Linked DNA regions of Homo sapiens: region 2 is linked to region 1. The links are contacts of gene promoters, found by promoter capture Hi-C in blood cells and fetal thymus (Javierre and others, 2016). All regions are on one chromosome and are shown on one strand. The core of a region is centred on a gene start or on the middle of the fragment in contact, and the rest is flanking DNA. Distances in the headings are between cores, read along the strand shown. Region 1 holds the start of SPINDOC (spindlin interactor and repressor of chromatin binding). Region 2 overlaps NAA40 (N-alpha-acetyltransferase 40, NatD catalytic subunit).

Region 1 (4,159 bases), core at 807-3,306:
TGCTTAGTTGACCTCTCCACCTGAATATGTCATAAATAGGCATCTCAAACGTAATCATATTCAAACTTTCACTCCCAGTCTCCCAAGAGCACCGCAGCCTTCCCCATCTCGGAAAATGGGAAGGCTCTTCCTCCAGTTGCTCAGGCCAAAAACCTTGAATTCAATCTTTCTTCCTCTCTCCACCGAAATCTTTCCAGAAGCTTGTGCTGCCGGACCTTTGCACTTGCTATTCGGCCTGAAATGCTCTTCCTGCAGATATCTGCAAGGTTGGCATCCTCACTTCCTTCGGGTCTGTGCTCAAAATTCACCTTATTAGAAAACCCTTTCTGAACCACTCGATATATTCAATTAAATACCCATTCCTCCTCTTTCTCCTTTTCCTGCTTTAGTGATCTCTGAACCATTTATTGCCACCCAACATACTATACATGAACCTATTTCTCTGTCTTTAGCCATTGGTATATATATGTTCTTCAAGAGCAGGGTTTCGGTTGCTCTGTTTACTACTACTTCCCAGCCTAAAAACACTAGCCTAAACAGCCTAAAGTAGACGTCCAGTGAATATTGGTTGAATGAATTCACCTGTCTATTCCTGCCCTAACAGTGGGGATAAGGCCACCCTTGCAGGGTTGAGAGGATTAACTGAGACAGCCTCTGACAATGCCCAATGAACACTCAACAAATATTAGCAGAAGTAGGAAAACAACCTATCTTTTGGACTAAATGCTCCGAGAAGGGAGGTGACCTTTATTTCCCTCATGAATTTTATAACCCTTCCAGTTCCAAAAAGGATGACAGGCAGTGCAGGCAGACATCATTCTGTTCGGCTGAAGTTCAATGAATGGCATTGCTGCTCTCAACCTCTTTTGGGTACTATCCCGCCTAAGAAAAGCGGGGTGGGAGAATGGAAATATATTTGCATTTTCATGCATATTAAGTCTCCCACAAAGATGGCTCTTTGTTTTCTTACGGTTTGCAAGCTCCTGAGGACTAGAAATCGGTGAAGGGGGAGGGGAGAGCGAGTGTTCTGAGATTGTTCCTCCCATCCCCTCCCAAAGCTAATCTCGTTCTAGCACTGCACTGCTTTTCCAAACTAGCTGTTGTATGCAGTCCCATTCATCCCTTCTCTCCAGAACTTGACACCTGTGGCTCCTGCAAGTGGAAGGCCCGGGAATGGGAATGAAGCGGGGTGGTGGGCAGGGAAGCGTTATGCTCGGAGAGCCCTTAAAATTCTCCTGGAGGTCGGCAGCGGCGCCCGCCTGTAGCCTCCGGCCTAGAGGCTTCGCCGCCCCTCGGACTAGAACACAGCCCGGCCGTTGTGCTTGCCTCCCCTTCCCAGGCTGTGAGACGGCGGCCGCAACCACCCAGCGCCTCTGGGGATCCGGCCTCTGGTGCTGGGCCCGGGAGAGGGGGCGCTTGGGCACCGGAAGATCCGGAGCGTGCGGGGCGTGGATCGAAGTCTCCAGACCCTGGGCGGGGGAAAGGGGAAGGGAGGGGGAAATCGAGGAGGCCTGAGCTTCTAAACCATGGTGGGGGAGGTGCAAGAGCGCGCCCTGGACCCAGATCCGAGAGGGAAACCTGGGCCCCAAGGCTGAAGGGGGTGAGAAGGTGCCCGGGTCCCGGACCCCGACTGGGGAGGGACGGCCCCAGCCCCGGCCCCGCACCGTGACGCGGAAGTGGAATCCCCTCCATCCTCACCTCTGAGCATCGGCTCGGGCCGCGGAATTACGGCCACCACCATGGCCTCCTCCTCGTCCTCCCCTTCCTCGCATTTCAGCGTCACCTCGAAGCAGTCGAGTGCGGCGCCCTCGGCCTTTAGGGCCATGGTGCGGCCGTGGGCGATAGCAGTGGCCGGAGGACTGGCGCGCAGGCTTCGGCGCGCAGCCGGCAACCGCCTCCCGCCTCCTGGCCGGAATAGCGCCGGGCCCGCCGCCCGCCCCGCGCAGCCCCCTCCCCGCCGCCCGCCCGCCGCTCGCCGGCCGGGCCTGCGACCGGCGCGTCCGGGCCTCCCCGAGACCTCGGCGCGTCGGGAGCCCGGGCGGGGAGGGCTCAATCCGGGGCCCCTGCCCCCCGCCGCTCCCTTTTATGGAGGCTCATTGTCGGCGCCCGCCCGGCCGGCCAGCCGCGGACCCGCCCCCGATGCCGCGCGGCCAATCGCGCGTGGCCCCGCCCCGGGCACGCGGCCCCGTTAGAAACCCTGGACCCGGGAGGCGGCGGGAAGGGCCGAGGGGACCCGGGGCCACCCGGTGCGCAGAGGCAGAGGGGCCCCCAAAACCCGCAACGCGGGCCCCTCAGTCTGCGGGCCAAGCCCGGGGTTTCCCTCCATTAAGAAGTCAGTTGGGCGTTTCTGCTGGCGTGGAGAGCGCTACCAGGTGCCCCCGGATTTTGATCGGGAGTCGCTTTTGCCTTTCCGTGGACAAGCCTTCCTCCGCCAGCAGATGCCCCGGGCAGGAAGAGAAGCGGTGGGTGAGTGGAAAGGGCCTTGGTATGGAAACGCAGAGACCGAATTCCTTCTCATCTGCCAGCTCCGTGGCCGTGGGCACATTATCTGTTTTCTTAGTCCGGCTCATCGTTTCTTTCAAAAACCATTTTGGACCCTTCTGGGAAGGCAAAGAAGAGAAGCAGAGTGGACTGTGAGCGGACATAAACCACCCTGATGGGTATGATTTCCATTTTTGGCACGGGAGTCCGGAGATTTTGTGACCCTCTCCAAGGACACACAGCAATCCCTTGAGAGCCCCAAGACCAGAGTCCAGTTGCCATGACATTGCTGCCCTATAACCACACTCTGGGTGAGCTTTTACTTCTGTGACATGGAATGTGCATCTCCCTCTTCTATAGCAACCCTCATGAGATTTCAGCTCAGAAAATGCAAAATGTCTGACACTGAAAATCCATCTTCGAATGTCGTTATATCAGACCAGACACAGTAGTATTCAGAATCGCGTAGTAGGATGGGGGTGTGAGAAGAGGTGTGAACTAGTCTATATGGATTGCAGTCAATTTTTTAATTTTTTTTTTTTTGAGACAGAGTCTCGCTCTGTCACCAGGCTGGAGTGCAGTGGCGCTATCTCGGCTCACCACAACCTCCGCCTCCCAGGTTCAAGCTATTCTCCCGCCTCAGCCTCCTGGGTAGCTGGGACTACAGGCACGTGCCACCATGCCCGGCTAATTTTTGTATTTTTAGTAGAGACGGGGTTTCAGCATGTTGGCCAGGATGGTCTTGATCTCTTGACCTCATCATCCGTCTGCCTCGGCCTCCCAAAGTGGGATTACAGGCGTGAGCCACCGCGCCTGGCCTTGCAGTCTATTTTTAAGGGAATTATTTTGTTATGTGCAAGTGTATCTGATATTTTAAAGGTTTTACAACAAAGGTATTACCAAGCCTGTTTAACTATTTCTGCTGAATGGTCATTCTCTACCATTTGCTACAGATCCCTTCCGTGCCCCTCTGCTCTGCTCTGTATTGCAGTGGGCTGAGTCTTGCGGGGGGCAGTTTCTCAGGCTCCCAGAGCATCTGGCTTCAGGCCTCGGTTTAGCCAATGGGAGGCAGTGGCAGGAGAAGAGAAGGCAGGAGGAAAGAAAGAGCCATGGTATTTCTTCTCTTTCTCTCTCTTGCTCAGGCTCAGGTGACATCTCCAGCAGCAGATGAGGCCTCTCTGTGGCTCCAGCTCATGGATAGGTAGCTGTGGTCCCAACATCTGTAGGATGATCCATGCCCCTGGGCTCTACTCAGTCCACCTCCTCTTTTTGTCCCTGCAGGTTAGGAGTTGTAGGCAGCTTCTTGCTTTTGCCAGTCTCTGTACTGCCTCTCTCTGTCCCCTGCTGGGCTTTCCAGACCTCCCTGTTAACCCCTGTTAATCGTGTCACCAAAACCCTGCATTACATTCTCTCTGTTTTCAATACTTAAAGTGGTTCCCTCCTGGCGGGGCGCAGTGGCTCCCAACTGTAATCCCAGCAGTTTGGGAGGCCAAGGCAGGTGGATCACTTGAGGTCAGGAGTTCGAGACCAGCCTGGCCAACATGGTGAAACCCTGTCTCTACCATAAGAAAAAAGAAAAAAGAAATTAGCCCGGCATGGTGGTGTGTGCCTGTAATCCCAGCTACTTACGAGGTTGAGTCAGGAAGATTGCTTGAGCCCAGGAGGCGGAGGTTGCAGT
Region 2 (4,159 bases), core at 520-3,019, 130 kb before region 1:
AGGCAGGATAATGGCGTGAATCCGGGAGGCTGAGCTTGCAGTGAGCCGAGATGGCGCCACTGCACTCCAGCCTGGGTGACAGAGCAAGACACCATCTCAAAAAAAAAAAAAAAAAAACAGCTTGCAAGTTTGGCATCATCATCCTATTTGACAGGTAAGAAAATGAGGCTTGAGGAATATGAGTGACTTCTCCAAGTAGAGTTATTAAGAAGCCCAGCTACAATTCAATCCCCCAGAGCCCCAGTTTATCCCCAAGCCAAGATGTTACATTCTGGAAGCACAACTCATCAACAGCATCTCAGGTAAGGCAGATTATACTTCCTATTTTAGAAACCAAAACGAGAAAAAAACGTGAGGGGGCCTTCACTCCAGAGCCTATAGTTAACTGGATCAGTAATAGTAACAGCAAACAGGGTGAGGGTTGAAAATTTACCTATTGGGTACGATGATTACTATTTGGGTGATGGGTACACTAGATGCCCAACCCCACCACTACACAGCTGCACATGTACCCCGCGAATCTAAAATAAAATTTTAAAATAAAATAACAGCAAACACTTATCTAGCTTTTATTATGCTGCAGGAACTAACACTTTACATCTTATCCTCCTGACAAGTCCATGAGAAAGGTACTATTATTAGAACCATTTTTGGTTTTTGGGTTTTTGTTTTGTTTTGAGACAGGATCTTGCTGTCACCCAGGCTAGAGTGCAATGCTGCTACCATGGCTCACTGCAGCCTGCATCTCCCAGGCTCAAGCAATTCTCCCACATCAGCCTTCTCAGTAGCTGGGAATACAGGCATGTGCCACCATGCCCAGCTAATTAAAAAAATTTTTTTTTTGTAGAGACAGGGTCTTCCTATGTCGCCAGGACTGGTCTTGGACTCCTGGGCACAAACGATCCTTCCAACCTCAGCCTCCCAAAGTGCTGGGATTACAGGTATGAGCCACCACACCTGGCCCAGGCCCATTTTTAAATAGAAAATTGAGGAACAGAAAGGTTAAGTAATTTGTTCAGGGTCAGCTGGGCACAGCACTTTAGGAGGCCGAGGTGGGAGGATCACTTGAGGACAGCAGTTTGAGACCAGCCCGGGCAACATAGGCAAGACCCCTTCTCTACCAAAAAATATATACATTTTTTTGAGATGGAGTCTTGCTCTGTTGCCCAGGCTGGAGTGCAATGGCGCAATCTTGGCTCACTGCAAGCTCCGCCTCCCGGGTTCACGCCATTCTCCTGCCTCAGCCTCCCGAGTAGCTGAGACTACAGGTGCCCGCCACCATGCCTGGCTAATTTTTTATATTTTTAGTAGAGACGGGGTTTTACCGTGTTAGCCAGGATGGTCTCGATCTCCTGACCTCGTGATCCGCCCACCTCGGCCTCCCAAAGTGCTGAGATTACAGGCGTGAGCCACCACGCCCAGCAAATATTTTTCTTTTTAAAGAAGAAAAGTAATTTGTTCAGGGCCAAATAGCCAGGAATTGGCTTTTAACAATTATACTGTATACTCAGGGAAAGAGCACTAGATTGGAAATTAAAAGCCCCTCAGCTGTCAGGGGAAACTCCATAAACTCAGAAAGCTCATTTGACTCTCTGGGCCTCAGTTTCCCATGCATTAAATGTGAGTGTCAGCCTAGATAATTTTCCAAGTTTGTTTCAGCTCAATGATTCTTTGCAGAGAGAATAATCAGTCCTGAAGAGACATCAGGCCAGGCGCGGTGGCTCACACCTGTAATCCCAGCACTTTGGGTGGCTGAGGCAGGTGGGTCAGTTGAGGTCAGGAGTTCGAGACCAGCCTGGCCAACATGGTGAAACCCCATCTCTACTAAAAATACAAAAATTAGCTGGGCGCAGTGGCTCACACCTGTAATCCCAACACTTTGGGAGGCTGAGACAGGTGGATCATGAGGTCAGGAGTTCAAGACCAGCCTGGCCAAGATGGTGAAACCCTGACTCTACTAAAAATACAAAAATTAGCTGGACGTGGTGGCGGGTGCCTTTAATCCTAGCTATTTGAGAGGCTGAGACAGAGAATTACTTGAACCTGGCAGAGGTTGCAGTGAGCCGAGATCGCACCACTGCACTCCAGCCTGAACGACAGAGTGAGACTCCGTCTCAAAAAAAAAAAAAAAAACCCACAAAAATTAGTGAGGTGTGGTGGCACGCACCTATAATCCCAGGTACTTGGGAGGCTGAGGCAGGAGAATCGGCTGAACCCAGAAGGCGGAGGTTGCAGTGAGCCGAGATTGCGTCACTGCACTCCAGCCTGGGTGACTAAGCAAGACTCCATCTCAAAAAATAAAAGAAAAATTTATCTAAAGAGACATCAGTCTGAGATTAAGTGCAATCTTTGCTCATTTATGGATTCTTCTGCCACCCTACCTGGGGGATTTTATATCAATATAGGGCACGAGTCAGTTTCTGCTTTTGTTTTGTTTTGTTTTGTTTTGTTTTGAGATGGAGTTTCACTCTTGTTACCCAAGCTGGAGTGCAATGGTGCTATCTCGGCTCACTGCAACCTCTGCCCCCCGGGTTCAAGTGATTCTCCTGCCTCAGCCTCCCGAGTAGCTGGGATTACAGGCGATCGCCACCGTGCCAGCTAATTTTTTGTATTTTTAGTAGAAATGGGGTTTCACTATGTTAGCCAGGCTGGTCTCGAACTCCTGACCTCATGTGATCCACCCACCTCGGTCTCCCAAAGTGCTTGGATTACAGGCGTGAGCCACCGCACCCAGCCCTGTTTTTTCGTAAATACGAAGAACAATGAGAAAATTTGTGTCTGAGGAAGCCTACTCTGGAAAGGGAATTCCTGAAGACACTCGAGGAGACAGCAGTTGGTAATGCTCAATGTGACTCACCCGTTTCTATCATATTTCTTGAACACTGGGAAAGCCTCCAGAGGGTCTCCAAGCTGTGGAGGGAAAGAAAAGAGGAACAGCACAGACAAGTGGGGCGGAGGTGCAGATCCTATCCCAAGAGCTGTTGTCTTGGAGTGGGATGCTGTGGGGACCCACAACGGGAGACTAACTTCAGAACCAGGAGCAGCCTCCCAAAACCCACCATTTGCCTAGCTCTGAAGTCACATGTGCGAGGAAGGCTTTGGTGGAAAGGCCCAGGAGAGTTAAGTTTGGCATCACCTGACAGGGCAAGAGGAGACCTCATTAGCCTGTGGGCATACAACCTGCTCACAGCACAGCTAACCCAAAGAAGAGGCTACCTGATCTGCTGCACACTGACTTTACCTGGTTACAACTCCAAATGGAAAATCAAGCCCCTGAGCCACATCCTTATAAATGAGTGTTTACTATGAGTGGGTTAAAAGAATGACCAAAAAATGGGATACTAAATGGAGGCAGGGGCTGGGCACTGTGGCTCACGCCTGTAATCCCAGCACTTTGGGAGGCCAAGGCAGGTGAAATGCTTGGGCTCAGGAGTTCAAGACCATCCTGGGCAACAAGGCCAAACCCCGTCTCTACAAAAATTACCCGGGTGTGGTGGTGGGCACCTATAGTCCCAGCTAATTGAGAGGCTGAGGTGGGAGGATCACTTGGGCCCAGGCGGCAGAGGCTGCAAGGTTGAAGTGAGCCGAGATAGTGCCACTGCATTCCAGCCTGGATGACAGAGTGAGACCCTGTCTCACACAAAAGAAAAAAAAATTATCTAGATCCTCCTCTATTCATAAGGAAGAAGATCCACAGGGAGGCAGCCACTTCACTGGAATCCACGTTTTCCCAAACACCTGGGCCAACTGCTGGCGCCAACTTCCAACACACAGGTATGAGCTCAGTTCCCTGCACAGCAAGGAGGCAGAGGCGGTGTGGGTGGGTAGTGTCACAATTCTGCCACAGGGTGGAGACAAAATAAGTCAAATTATAAACCAAGCTGAAGTCCCAGGAGGCAGGGACTGGGAAGAAAGGGAGAATCACCCTGTTGGCAGCGTCCACTTTGGCACAAACGGCATCCATGGCTGCTCGCTCCTCCAACCGCTTCTGCTTCTTCTCCTTGGCTTTGCTTGACTTTCTCTGCAACAGGGAAAAGCAACGTTAGCTGGAATGGCTGTGGCCAATCAAGCACTGACTTTCCCTTTAAGGAATCGAAGGGCCCTGCATCCACAGGCCTGGCCCAGCAGTGAGAAATTTCCCACCTCTGCTGCCACACAT

Evidence for each region. Contacts are between HindIII fragments. The CHiCAGO score rates a contact against its expected background, and 5 or more counts as called.
Region 2: a contact is called between a fragment that was not itself captured here and the fragment with the promoter of SPINDOC in region 1, in 9 of 17 cell types (M2 macrophages, M0 macrophages, M1 macrophages and 6 more). The highest score is 8.1, in M2 macrophages.

Annotation. Positions count from the first base shown.
Region 1 is chr11:63,811,353-63,815,511 of GRCh38, reverse strand. It overlaps SPINDOC (spindlin interactor and repressor of chromatin binding), which reads right to left and starts at 2,056. Exons shown (of 6, transcript NM_138471.3): 1 at 1,699-2,056. The coding sequence starts at 1,825. RefSeq lists silencers at 1,951-2,420, 3,681-3,975. The HindIII fragment of the contact is 4,146 bases long and covers 203-4,159 here.
Region 2 is chr11:63,945,702-63,949,860 of GRCh38, reverse strand. It overlaps NAA40 (N-alpha-acetyltransferase 40, NatD catalytic subunit), which reads right to left. Exons shown (of 8, transcript NM_024771.4): 2 at 3,926-4,021; 3 at 2,858-2,910. Among named protein-coding and RNA genes, the nearest start is that of NAA40, 8.8 kb to the right of the region's middle. RefSeq lists an enhancer at 3,889-4,159. The HindIII fragment of the contact is 8,489 bases long and covers 1-4,159 here.